Regions from separate parts of the Homo sapiens genome. Here region 2 is linked to region 1. The links are contacts of gene promoters, found by promoter capture Hi-C in human tissues and cell types (Jung and others, 2019). All regions are on one chromosome and are shown on one strand. Each heading gives the region's core, a stretch centred on a gene start or on the middle of the fragment in contact. The rest is flanking DNA. Distances are from core to core; before and after follow the strand shown. Region 1 holds the start of KRTAP10-5 (keratin associated protein 10-5). Region 2 overlaps TSPEAR (thrombospondin type laminin G domain and EAR repeats).

Region 1 (7,055 bases), core at 1,548-4,047:
GCTGTCATCGCGTCTCCAGAGTTGTGCTGGGCAGCCAGCCACGATGAAAGGGAGTCAAATAAAACAAAAGACTACATTTTGGAAAAGAAGAATCCAAACGTGTGTCACTTGCAGAAGACACGGCCGTGGGCCACCCTGCCCTCCAGACTCACATCCCCTCCCAGCACCTCCCTCCCCCAGCCAGGGCTGTTTAATCCCTGCAGCTCAGCTCACTCAGATCCCCAGAGTGTCTGCTTGATTTAAGAAATGATGTGATCTGGCCGGGTGCAGTGGCTCACATCTGTAATGCCTGCACTTTTGGGAGACTGAAACGGATGGATCACTTGAGGCCATAAGTTCGAGACCAGCCTGGCCAAAATGTCCAAACCCCATCTCTACTAAAAATACAAAAAAAAAAAGAAAGAAAGAAAAATAGCTGGATGTGGTGGTGCACACCTGTAATCCCAGCTACTCGGGAGGCTGAGGGAGGAGAATCGCTTGAACCCGGGAGGTGGGGCCTGCAGCACCACTGCACTCCAGCCTGGGTGACAGAGTGAGACTGTGTGTCAAAAAAGAAAAGAAAGAAAGAAGGAAGAAAAGAAAGAAAGAGAAAGAAAGAGAGAAAGAAAGAAATTGGTGTGATCATTCAATTGTCCGTGGAAACTGCCATGGTGGCCCCCAGTGAAAATTTCCATGATCCAAAAAGACACGTCTCCACTGAGCGCAGGGCGTGGACTTAGATCAGGCACACTGAGACCCTGGAGCTGTTGTGGGCACAGCAATGACTGTGGAAAGACACTTTGGACAGTGATGGGTGGTCCAGACACCAGGAGAAGGGAGCGACAGAGGGCGTGGATCACAAATAGGAATAAAGAGACAAGGAATCACCACACCCATTCGATTAAGGAGGCTGCCAGAGATAGCGATGGGAAAACTAAAGCAAATTATCATACAGGCCCCAGGGCTTGTCCCAGAAGCCATGTCAGCCTTACCACATCCCGCTGGCTCAGGACCACCTGCCTCCCTGCCTGCCACTCAGGAAGCACGCACTCTTCTGGGAGCTGTGTGACAGAACGGAGCCATGTATGGCCGTGAGGGAAAGGAGTGAGAGCTCGCGGTTGTCAGGTTCACTGCCGGCCAGCTGTCCTCTTTCAAGGTTACTTATCTTCTCTCATCATTTCTGCAACTGTCAAAATGGGCTGCAGAGTCACCCCTCACGCGGTGGCTGATGTGGAGACCGCACCTGCGCCGTGCATGTCTGTAGCACACCCGCTGATATGACGTCATCCTAGCCTTCCTGGCTTTCCTGTCATTTCCTGAAAGGAGCATCGAGTCCTTCAGTCCCAGAAAGTGGGTTAAGCACACAGTTCTCGCACAACCTCTACTAATAATCACTGAAAGGATATTCAAAGAGTTATAAAAAATAAAATCAAAATTGTCTAACAAAAAGGGAGGCTCTTTAAAATCCTTTATATATTTGTAGAAAAGAGAAACAGATGGAAACAAATTAGAATGTAAACTGGATCAGGACCCCAATGCCCTGGAATAAAATAGTCTTTTACTCAGAAAATCAAATGAACTGCCACCAATGAGCAGAGCTTAACTGATGTCCAGTGAAACGAGGGGAAAAACGTTTAAATGCTCAACATAACATCATTACAGTGAGCCAAAAATGTATTTCATTCATCGTGAGACAAAATTAAAGTCACAAAAGGAAAGACCTTGAGAGATGAGTTATTTTTAAGAGCGCAAAACACTTCCTGAGTCTCCACATTGAAAGGCTCAATGAATTCTAACCACAGAAAGTAAAATAATGCACACGCATAGAAACAAAAGAAGAATAAAAAGAAAACCAAATGTTCCCAGAGAGTTAAACGGAGAGAGAGAGACAAACTATAAAAAATGACAAATGACCAACCTCAGTCTCTCATCAGCAACGCTGGACACTACAGAAAAATGGTGACACAGGTTCATCATTTTGAGAAAACAGATTTTTTGTTATTATTTATAATAATAATTCTGACTTAAAACCAGAATTATATACCCAGCTAAACTATCATATAAGTGTGAGGGTAAAGTTGAGTACATTTTTAGGCAAGAAAGAAATCTTAAAATGTATGTCCTAAAATCACCATATGTGAAAAAGTACTTGATCTGTCACCATGAGGAAATAAAAATGGAGAAAACCCAGAGCGCAGCTTCAAATAAAACAGAGAGAGGGCTCTGAGGGTGGCATGGAAGAGCTGAAGAGACAAGGATAAAGCACAGATCCACCAGATACCAAATCTCTGAGCATTCCCCTTACGAGGCACAAGGGGTTGAAGAGAGGGCCACTTAGCTTCATCGTACCCTCTGTGCCAGCTGCATTTTATAAGAAATGCATATTTTTCTACCTATTTATATTTTAATATGCTAAAAGTAATAAAATATATCCAATCAGTCCAAACACAGGATAGGTGAAACTAGAATTCCTCCCTTTAGAGAAGTCTTCATCTCTAAAACCTCTACTCAACAAAAGTTTGCTTGAAATATTTTCCACCACATTTCTGGGGCTAAAATAAGAACCGATGAAGAAACACGGCCCTGCAACATACACACAAGTTTAATGAGGGAAAAACAAACAGATAAACCAGCATGAATGACGCATCTCCAGCCACCAGCTCTAAACACCAACAAGGAAGAGAAGCTTGTGGAGCCTCCTGTCGGGACAACACACGCCAGGGAGGGATTTAAAAGCCCCACAGCCCTGAGCACCTCACTCACTCACTCCCTCCTTCACTCACTCACACACTCACTCACTCACACCTCCCCCAGCTCCCAGCTCACGTCTTCCCCACCCCAGCATGGCCGCGTGCACCATGTCCGTCTGCTCCAGCGCTTGCTCTGACTCCTGGCGAGTGGACGACTGCCCAGAGAGCTGCTGTGAGCCCCCCTGCGGCACCGCCCCCTGCCTGACCCTGGTCTGCACCCCAGTGAGCTGTGTGTCCAGCCCCTGCTGCCAGGCGGCCTGTGAGCCCAGCCCCTGCCAATCAGGCTGCACCAGCTCCTGCACGCCCTCGTGCTGCCAGCCGGCTTGCTGCGCCTCCTCCCCCTGCCAGCAGGCCTGCTGCGTGCCCGTCTGCTGCAAGCCTGTGTGCTGCCTGCCCACCTGCTCTAAGGATTCCTCTTCATGCTGCCAGCAGTCTAGCTGCCAGCCAACTTGCTGTGCCTCTTCCTCCTGCCAGCAGTCCTGCTGTGTGCCTGTCTGCTGCAAGCCCGTGTGCTGTGTGCCCACCTGTTCTGAGGATTCCTCTTCATGCTGCCAGCATTCTAGCTGCCAGCCGACTTGCTGCACCTCCTCCCCCTGCCAGCAGTCCTGCTACGTGCCTGTCTGTTGCAAGCCTGTCTGCTGCAAACCCATCTGCTGTGTGCCCGTCTGCTCTGGGGCTTCCACTTCATGCTGCCAGCAGTCTAGCTGTCAGCCGGCTTGCTGCACCACCTCCTGCTGCAGACCCTCCTCCTCCGTGTCCCTCCTCTGCCGCCCCATATGCAGGCCCGCCTGCTGCCTGCCCATCTCCTCCTGCTGTGCCCCTGCCTCCTCCTACCAGGCCAGCTGCTGCCGCCCGGCCTCCTGCGTGTCCCTCCTCTGCCGCCCCGCGTGCTCCCCCCTGGCCTGCTGAGGCCTCTGCTCAGGCCAGGAGTCCAGTTGCTGATGTGCACATCCCCCAGGGCCAACTGGTCCTGACTCGGGTTAGGAGGTTGCCCCCGCTTGGGACGGGGCCCCCATGTGCTGAGGTGACCCCCCCCTCCATACTCCCAGGAATCTCCATCCTCGAAGCTCCCCAGCTCCTGCCTCCCAGCAGGGGCCCACCTGCCTGTTGGGTCCCCTGTCCTCCCTCCCAGCTTCTCTGCCCCATGTCACTTGGCCTCGACTTGAACCTGTCAGCACCTCCTCCTGCTCCCCAATAAACTCCCCTTGGTCGCCTGATTCTCTTTTTCTGTAGTGCTCCTGGGGATACATGGTTTTGAGCTCAGATTGGTCTCTAGCCATGACTGTTTCTATGAATGAGTGACTTAACCTAGAAGTCACGGGGGACAGTGGCCTAACTCCTCCAGGGGGTCACCAGGTGGAACTCACAGCCACGCCCAGGAAGGCTCAGTCCCGGCTCAGCCTCCATGCCTGGGTCTTCCTGAGCCTGGTCATTGGCTGCCGTGCCCTGGGCTGTGGGGCTCTCCAGGCCCCAGGACTGTCCCACCCACTGTCCCACCTGGGAGAGCCCACCCTGCAGGGTCACCTTCCAGGAAGCTGGCCTGGGGTCCGGGCACCGCAGCCTCCAGGCCTGGTCACCCTCCCTGTGTGCCGCCCGCCCGAGAGTTCTGCCCGCTTAGCAGCAATGCGGGGGGAGAGGGAGGGGCTGCTGCACCTGCGCAGGAGACAAGGGACTCGATCAGGACGAAAGCATCATGGAGTGGGTGGATGGATGCACATGATTCCCCAAAACTGGCACTGCCCCAGGCCCTCCTCTGGGGGCACCAGGTTCCGCATGGGCTTTCAGGACCCAGAGTCCGCACCTGCAGGACCGTGCGTCAGGCCCCTCTTAGGTGAGGTTGACATGGGCGACACTGGAGGGCACAGGTGGACAAGGCCCTGCTGAGACCTGGGGGATTTTCTGGGGGGATGGCCTTCCAGGGGCTGCGGTGGTGGCTGGAACTGTTTTAGTAAGTAGGCAACTGTCCCCAGTGGGTAAATTTTCAGTTACCCTCCCTGCAAGGCCATCTCAGGGTCAAGGCGTGGGTGTTCCTCCATGAGTCCCCCTCTCATCCCAGGAGTCTGTGTCCATGGCCAGAGCCCACCAAGGGCATCCCTGCCACCCGTGAGGCCTCAGCCTCCGTCCCCTAATCCCTAGCACCCTCGCCGACACTGTGTCTACCCCACGGTTTTCTGGAAAAGTTTGGGTTAGATTGGCATTATTTCTCCCCTAAATGCTTGGTAGAATTCAATGGCAAAGCCATTCGGGATTGGCATTGTCTCTGTGGGAAGGGTTTTAATTATGAGTCCAGTCTCTTCAATTGATAGAGGGCTATTCCGATTTTCTATTTCTTCTTGTATCCCTTTTCATAAATGATGCATTTCCAGTCATTTGCCTATTTCATCTAAGCTGTTGAATGTATTGACATAGAGTTGTTTGCATTATTTGTTTGGTTTCCTTTAAATATCTACAGATTCTGTAGTGGCAACCTTTTATTCATTCCTGATGTATTAGTTCATTTTCATGGTGCTAATAAAGACATACCCAAGACTGGGCAATTTACAAAAGAAAGAGGTTTAATGGACTCACAGTTCCACATGGCTGAGGAGGCCTCACAATCATGGTGGAAGGTGAAAGGCACAATTCACTTGGTGGCAGACAAGAGAAGAGAGCTTGTGCAGGGAAACTCCCCTGTATAAAACCATCAGATCTTGTGAGACTTACTTACTATCATGAGAACAGCACAGGAAAGACCCACTCCCATGATTCAATTACCTCCCACCAGGTGCCTCCCACAACATGTGAGAATTCAAGATGAGATTTGGGTGGGGACACAGCCAAACCATAACATCCGATATTGGTAATTTATTTGTTCTCTTGTTTTATAATGACCAGTAAAGTTAGAAATTTGCCAATTTCATTTGTCTTTAAAAAAACTAGGTTTGGTTTTATTTATTTCCCTGTTTGTCCACTTTCTATTTGGTAGGTGATATGGTGGATATGTGTCCCCTCCAAATCTCATGGTGAACCATGATCCCGTGTTGGAGGCAGGGCCTGGTGGGAGGTGATTGGGTCATGGGGACGGTTCCCTCATGAGTGGCTTGGTGCCACCCCCACAATAATGAGTGAAGTCTTGCTCTGTTACTTCATGGACAGCTGGTTGTTTACAAGAGCCTGGCACTCCCTCCTCTCTGTCTCTCTTGCTCCCCTCATACCATGTGATGCCTGCTCCCCGTCCACCTTCCACCATGAGTAAAGCTTCCTGAGACCTCAGCAGAAGCTCAGCAGGTGCCATTCTTGTACAGCCTGTAGAACCAGGAGCCAGATAACCGTGGGCCTTTCCTCATAAATTGCCCAGTCTCGGGTATTCCTTTACAGCAGTGCAAAATGGACAAACACAGTGGAGTTTTTAAATTCTTGATTATTTTATTATTTCTAGTTATTTTTGGGTTCAACATATGCTTCTTTAGCTTCTTAAGCTGGAAGCTCGGACAACTGATTTTAGGCCTTCTTCTCTAATAAAACAAATTACTATGCATTTTCCTCTACATGCTTTGTTAGCTGCATCCCACAAGTATTGATATGGGGTGATTTCATTTTCATTTTATTCCAGATATTTCATAATTTCCATTGTGATTTATATTTTTACTCATAGATCTTAAAGTGTGTTATTTAATTTCCAAGTATGTGGCAGTTTTCTAAGTGTCTTTCTGTTAATGATTTCCAATTCTGTGTGGCCAAGCAGCATGCTCAGCCCTCCTGTGATTTCATCCCTCCTGAGGACACTGAGACTTGCTCTCAGGCCTCTCCGGTGGTTTATGTTGGTGGATGTTCCACGTGCACTTTAAACAACATGCATCCCATTGTTGTTGGATGGGATTTTGTATAAATATCCCTTAAGTCGGCTTGGTTTTTAGTGGTTTCTCAACTTTTCTATACACCTCCTGGAAAATGACTTTCTGAAGACAGAGTGAGGTTTGGTAAAGACACAAAGGACCTCAACCAGCAGTGTTCTCAGCTCACGTGAAGGGAAACAGCACTGTAGTTTAATGAAGACTCTTCCACAGAGTCCCCTTCTCTGGAGTTATTTTTAACTCTCTGCTTCCATGGGTTGCAATCAACACATTGAGTTGTGTTGCTGAAAACCATGGGCATGTTCACCCATGAGGTTTGCCCCCTCACCCACCCTGGGACATCCATGTGTCTGTTCACCCATGAGGTTTGCCCCCTCACCCACCCTGGGACGTCCGTGTGTCTGTTCACCCATGAGGTTTGCCCCCTCACCCACCCTGGGACGTCCGTGTGTCTGTTCACCCATGAGGTTTGCCCCCTCACCCACCCTGGGAC
Region 2 (7,055 bases), core at 2,579-5,078, 41 kb before region 1:
CGCGGCCTTCCCCGAGGTCCACTCAGACTTGCATGTGGGAACGCTGGGGATAGGACTGGGTTTCAGACAGGATAGAAAAGTTTTGAACTGGTCCATTTTGGGCTATGGATTTGGTTCTGCTCTTTCAGGCCATAGCTTTATGATACGCTTCAATCATAGATAATTCAAGTCCCATTATCAATATTTCTTTTTGTAAAAAAAAATTTTTTTTGTAGAGACCAGAGTCTTGCTATGTTGCCCAGCTGGTCTTGAACTCCTGGGCTCAAGTGATCCTCCTGCCTTGGCCTCCCAAATTGCTGGGACTACAGGCGTAAGCCACCGTGCGTGGCCCATCATCAGTATTTCTGTGCCAAGTCTCCTAACTTTTCATGCTCATTTTCTTTGCTGTGCTCAGCTCCCATTCTTCAAAGGTAAGCTTCATGTGGGCAGGAAGTGTGGTTGTCTTGTTCACCACTCAGTCTCTGAGGGCCTAAAATAATGCCTGGAATAGGGAAGATCCTTCATAAAAATGGGCTGAAATAATAAATGTTTTTGGAGAAATTATCGAAGAGTAATTTTGACCTCTGAAAACGATTCCATTATGCTACCTTTTTCTTATGCTGTATAAAACTCTCTGTCAAGTTCTGCTTTTGTGTGTGGGGAATTGGCTGACATCAGACTGGCCATCTAGCTGAGAAAAGTTAGGAAACCTGGTTTAACAAACAAAATCTCTATTTGAGGGCACCAGGAGTCACCAAGACAGCTGAGACTTGAGTGAGTGAATCCCTATTAGAGGGAAAGTGCACAGAAGTGAGTCTAATATTTCTTCTGGATTTTCTTATTGAGGCATTTACTGATTCACAGACTACAGCCATGAGGCTGAGGCTGAGCACAGCTTTTAGTAGTCTCATACAATTGGAAGACAAAAACATAGAGTTCAGGACCTGACAAGGAGGAGGGATTCTGGTAAAACAACAACAACAACAGACTGTCAGTTGGAAACAGTGAATATAAGTGAAGGATTACGCCCTAGGATGAAGGAAAAAACGGAAAGAAGAATGAAGCCCACCTTTAAATCAGCTCGTATTGAACTCATATGATCTGCCTGTAGCCTAAGTGCCTCCCAGAAACAAAAGTGATCTCTTCTGGAGACAGCAGCATCAACAGAGGCTCAAATCATCTTGGAAATTTTCATGAAGTCCTGGATTCAGTCAAAAATTACTAGGGCTACTAGAAGACAAACCAACTGACCAAAGGACCAAGAGGAAAAAGCAAACAAGAGAAACAGATACACAGGACCTTTAGATATTAGAATTGTCAAACTGGAATTTAAAATAATGCTGATTAGCTTGCTCAAAAAACCAGAGGACAAATGGAGAATTTCAGTGTCAAACTAGATTTATGAAATGGAATCAAACAGAAATTCTGGAAATGAACATAATAGCTGAAATTAAGAACTAAGTAGATTAGCTAGACAACATATTAGACAAAACCAAAGAGAAGATTAGTGAAGAAAGGGAGATGAGGAAATTCAGCCCTGAGTACAGAGATGGGAAAGAAAAGAGGGAAATGAAGAAAGTGGAGTAGTAAGCATGCCCTTATGTTGTAAATAATTATGAATATAAATGGTTGAAATCATAGGAGGAGATGAGTAAAATAAGGGTAGTAAAATATTTGAAGGTTTAATAGACAAGAAGTTTAAAGTGATGAAAAACATTAACCCATAGATGCAAAAAGCATTTAAGAATGTTTAGCAAGGTGAATACAAAGGAAACCATGCCTGTGCATATTGGGGCTGAAATCCAAAGACAGAGAAAAATTTAAAAACAGCCAAGGGAAAAAAAAAGAAATATTACCTTTAAAGAAGCAACAATAGCATTTACAGATGACTTCTCAGTAGAAATGATGGCAGCCAGAGGATGATGGAATGATATATTTACTGTCTGAAAGAAAAGAAGCACCAAGCTAGAATTCTACACCTGGGAAGAAGATCCTCAAAAATGAGGACAGGAAAATGATGTTCTCTGGATGCTGAGAGGTTGTGTCACCAGTAGGATCTGCACTACAGAAAATAAAAAGATAATTAGGCAGAATGAAAATGATCACAGATGGAAGCAAGAAGTCGAAAAGGAAATGAAGTGTAACAAAAGGAGGACAACATGGGGAAATCTAAATGAATATTTACTGTATAAGATGTCTTAGAAGTTGTAAAATATTTATAGAAATGAAATACATGGCAAGAAGATCACAAAATTCAGGAGGGGGCTACATGAAGTTAAAGCAGTCTTAGTACACTATACTATCTGGGAAATAATATAAGATCTAATTTACATTAGACTTTAAAAAGTCATAGATTCATGTTGTAATCTCCACTAGAGTAATGAAAGAATATACAACTCAGGAGGAAGTAGATGAGTGTAGTGGGTTGAATCTTGCCTCCCCAAAAGTCATATCCACCCAGAACCTCACTGTGTTAAGCTGGTCTCGCATTGCTATAAAGAAATATTTGAGACTGGGTAATTTATAAGACGAAAGTTTAGTTGGCTCATGGTTCTGCAGGTTGTACAGGAAACATGGCGCTGGCATCTGCTCAGCTTCTGGGGAGGCCTCAGGGGGCTTTGCTCATGGTGGAAGGTGAAGGGGGAGTGGGCATGTCACATGGCAAAAGAGTAGCAAGAGAAAGAGAGTGGGGGATGGGAGGTGCTACACGCTTAACCAGATCTTGCCAGAACTCCCTCACTATCACAAGGACAGCACTACTAAGTCATGAGAGATCCGCTCCCATGAGTCAAATAGCTCCCCCAAGGCCCCACCTCCAACAGTGGAGATCACATTTCAACATGAGATTTGGCAGGGCCATACAACCAAACCATGTCACTCACAATGTGACCTTACATAGAAATAGGGTCTTTGTAGATGAAATTAGTTAAAATGAGGTCATACCGGGTTATAGTGAACCTTAAATCCAATGACTAATGTCTTTATCAGAGAAAGGAGAAGGAAGTTCAAACACACACACAAAGGGAAGACGGCGTATGACAGCCAAGGCAAAGATTGTCATGAGGCAGCTATAAGCCAAGGGACGCCAAGGTTTGCTGGGAGCACCAGAAACTAGAAGCAGCAAGGACAGAGTCTCCCTTGGAGCTAAGAGAAAGCATGGCCCTGTGGATATCTTCATTTCAGGTGCCTGGCCCTAAGAACTGCGAGATAATAAATTTCCACTCTTATAAGTCACTTTTTTGGTGACATTTGATGTGGCAGCCCAAGGAACTAATACAGTGAGGGGAAGATGGGGGCATAAAAAATCTCAAAACACTAGATCCAAAAGCAGTAAAGCAAGGAGATAAAAGGGAGTAGATTCCTTGCGTAAGCAAAAACCAAAATGAGATGGGAGGTTTAAGCTCAAACGTATCAGCAAAGCCCCACATTCTTGCCAGTCCTGCACAGCAGATGTGTTGTTACTTTAGTCAACACAGCTATACAGAGAGAGTCCTTTGGGGTTTAAGTTTGTATTGCCCTGATGACTCATGATGTGGAGCATGTTTTCATGTATTTATTTGCCATCTGTACCTGCTCTTTAGGGAAGGGTCTATTTAAGTCTTATGTTATATGGCAAAATACTAAGCACCATGGGGTTCCATGCATATAACATTTTGGAAAAGGTAATTGTAAAGGGACCAAAAAAAATGTCAGTGGCTGCCAGGGACTAGGATGGGGATGTGGAATGACTACAAATGGCCATGAGGGAAATGTATGGGATGATGAGAGGAGTCTATGTATTGATTGCGTTGGTGGAGACACAACTGTCTATATTTGTCAAGACACCGAATCCACACAAAAGGAACAAAAATACAAATATCCCATATTGATTAAATAACTTGAATCTAACATCAAAAGCTTTCCTACAGAGCCAACTACAGACCCAAATACTTTCCCTGCTGAATATTCTCAAACAACTGGGAGAGAAATAATACCAGTCTTAAATTTATCAGCTTGTTTTATTAGGCTGCCATAATTTTCCAGACCTTAGGAAGTGGGGCCTGAAGTATTGGCTTCTAGTGAGAGCAACTGAGGAATGATATGTGCTGCCCAGGGGGCCACGTGGATGTTACCTGGGGACATGATGGCCCTACTGGGGAGGGGCCAGCCATAGGCCAGGAAAGGAGCCTGATGAGGAAGCCACTGTCATACAGAAGCTGGAGCAGACTGATCGGCGGGGGCTGGGCCCACAGGACATTATGTAGTGATTAATGTCCATCCATCAATAAGATATATCAATTATAAATATATACATGTTTATCATCAGATCACCAATGTATATGAAACAAAAATGGACAGATTTGAAGAAAGAAATAGACAGTTCCAGTTCTACAGTAAGAGTTTGAGACTTCAATAAGCCATTCTCTCTAATTTAAAAAAGTATAAAATAACAGAACTAAATTTTTATTCAATAAGGAAATAGAGGACTTGAAAAATGACATAAATCTACTGGGTCTAACAGATATGTGCAAAAACACACAACCCAACTACAGCAGAAAACTCACTCTCCTCAAGTTCACATGGGACATTCTTCAGATTAGATTTTACCTTAGGCCACAAAACTAGCCTCAATAATCTAAATTGATTTGAATCATACAGAGTATCTTCTCTGATTACAATGGAAGGAAACTAGAAATCAGTAACAAAAGAAAAGCTGGAATTCACAAATATGTGTAACCTAATAGCACACTTTCAAACAACCAATTGGTCAAAGGAGAATTCAAAGAGAAGATAGAAAACTCTTGGAAAGGAATGAGAAAGAAATCACAGTAACCCAAAACTTAACGAGATGCAATGAAGGCAGTACATAGAGGGAAATTGATAGCTAGGAATGCTTACATAAAAAAATAGAAACATCTCAAATCATTAATTTAACTTTACACCTTAAGGAACTAGAAAAAGAGCAAAGTGAATCCAAATTTAGCAGAAGGTAGAAAATAAAGACTAGAGTGCAGATAAATGGAATAGAAATTTTAAAAATCAATCGAATCAAGGAACAAAAAAGTTGGTTCTTTGAGAAGAGCAACAGATTTGACAAACCTCTGTCTAGACTGATTAAAGGAAGACAGATTCAAATAACTAAAATCGTAAATGAAAATGGGAACATCACTACTGACCTTACGTTAATAAAAATAATTATAAAGGAATACTATGAATATTTGTACCCAACAAATTAGATAACCAAGATGTAATGGAAAAACTCCTATAAACATACAAACTACCAACATGGCTACCTTTGCTGTTGACCTTTCTTCATTCATATTGCTTTAGCTTACTATCGACTGCCTTTGTATTTCAGCCTGAAATAGCATTTCTTGTAAGGGACATCTTTCAGCAACGAGCTCTCAGGTTTTATTTACCTCAAAATGTGTTACTTCTTCACTTTTGAAGGATCACTTTGCCAGATGAAGACGTCTTTTTGGTTGTTGGGTGCTCCCCACCCCTGTGCCCAAACCCAGCATGTTAAATATGTCATCCCAACGCGTTCTGGCCTCCATGGTTTCTGATGAGAAATCCGCTGTTAGTCTTCCGTCCCACTGCTTTTTACATTCTCTCTTTGTTTTGACTTTTGAGAGTTTGATTATACTGTGTTTTTATGTGAATCCCTCTGAGTTAGATTGATGTGTTTCCTCAATTCTGGAAGTTTGGGCCATTATTTCTTCAACTATTTTTTCTGCTCCCACTGTCTCCCCTCCAACTGGAAATCCTGCTAAGTGTGTTGGTATGCTTGATGGTGTCCCACAGGTCTTTTCAGATTTGTTTATTTTTCTTCATTCTCTCATCTGCTCCTCATTTTCTCATCTACTCCTCAGACAAGAATACTTCAATGGATCTATCTTCTTGTTCACTAATTCTTATAGCTGCTAAAATCTGCTGTTGAAACCATATCATGAGTTATTTATTTCAGTGACTGTACTTTCCAATTCCAGAACTTCTATTTAATTTCTTTTTAAATTTCCTCCTATCTCTTTATTGATATTCTCTATTTGGTGAGGTATCATTCTCCTGGTTTATCTTAATTCATTGTCTGTGATTGTATTTAGTTTTTTAAACATGTTTAAGAGAGTTGATTGAAAGGCTTTGTCTAATAAGTCCAATTCTGGGCTTCCTCAGGAAGATTTTCCATTAATTGCTTTTCCTCCTCATGAGTAGCTTATATTTCTTGCTGCTTTGCATGGCACATGCCTCTGGTGAAAACTGCACAGTGACAATTACAAAGGGATATTTCTGGGTATCAGGCTCTCCTCCCTCTGCGCAGTTTGCTGTTGCTGATTGTTGTGGATTGTGGTTGTTTTTGTTTGTTTCTGTCAGTTTTTAAAAATAGTTTCTTCACCATGTGTGCTCACTGTTCTATTAGCTTAGTGCTGAGATAGTAATTTGACAGAGAGTTCCTTAAACCCCTGGAATCAAAAACTTATTTTTCTTCAGGGTTTGTAGCTGGGCTCTGTATGTTGGTCCACGCCTTCAGCACTCGGCTGGGGAGTTTGTGACTCTGCCTTCCCCTTCACTTCCTGCTTGCACCTTCACTTCCTGCTTGCACCTTCACTTCCTGCTTGCTCAGAGCCTGAGGTTCAGCCAGAGGTGAGCAATGAGAGCTTCTCAGCTCTTTTCTGAGCCAGTGCCCCATCATAGACATGCACGGGGGCTTTCTGGACTCTAAAAATATGTGGAACCTTCTAACTCCCTTATTCCTCAAAGCATGTCATCTCCTAGCTTTTCCTCCCAGGCTTTTTAGGGGTGTCCAGTGTTTTCCCAACTGAAAATTTTTGACTTAGGTGTCAGTGACTTGTTCATTTACCTTTAAACGTTGTAACACACACCCTCCATATAGCTGCTCCTCTACCTTGAGATAGTCTGAGTTGGTGAAATAAGGCAAGCCCTGTGTGTTAGTCCTTCAGGGAGCCACCAGACGGTCGAAACAGGCAACTGCACTGCCTTACAAACAAGGTCCACTCTGCTTCCCTGGCAGCAGCACCCCACACCAGGAACTCCGGCTGCTGCCTTCCTGACTGTCACCCAGCTGGGGATGGGGGATG

The links. The method cuts DNA at HindIII sites, captures the fragments that hold promoters and counts their contacts. A contact is called where the count stands out against the background at its distance.
Region 2: a contact is called between a fragment that was not itself captured here and the fragment with the promoter of KRTAP10-5 in region 1, in 3 of the 25 tissues and cell types used here (IMR-90 fibroblasts, lymphoblastoid cells and mesenchymal stem cells).

Annotation. Positions count from the first base shown.
Region 1 is chr21:44,576,346-44,583,400 of GRCh38, reverse strand. It overlaps KRTAP10-5 (keratin associated protein 10-5), which reads left to right and starts at 2,797. Exons shown (of 1, transcript NM_198694.3): 1 at 2,797-3,946. The coding sequence starts at 2,823. The coding sequence ends at 3,638. The region is part of intron 1 of TSPEAR (thrombospondin type laminin G domain and EAR repeats); the gene reads left to right. RefSeq lists enhancers at 2,473-3,062, 3,063-3,653. The HindIII fragment of the contact is 3,934 bases long and covers 383-4,316 here.
Region 2 is chr21:44,618,586-44,625,640 of GRCh38, reverse strand. The region is part of intron 1 of TSPEAR (thrombospondin type laminin G domain and EAR repeats); the gene reads left to right. Among named protein-coding and RNA genes, the nearest start is that of KRTAP10-9, 5.0 kb to the left of the region's middle. The HindIII fragment of the contact is 3,363 bases long and covers 2,147-5,509 here.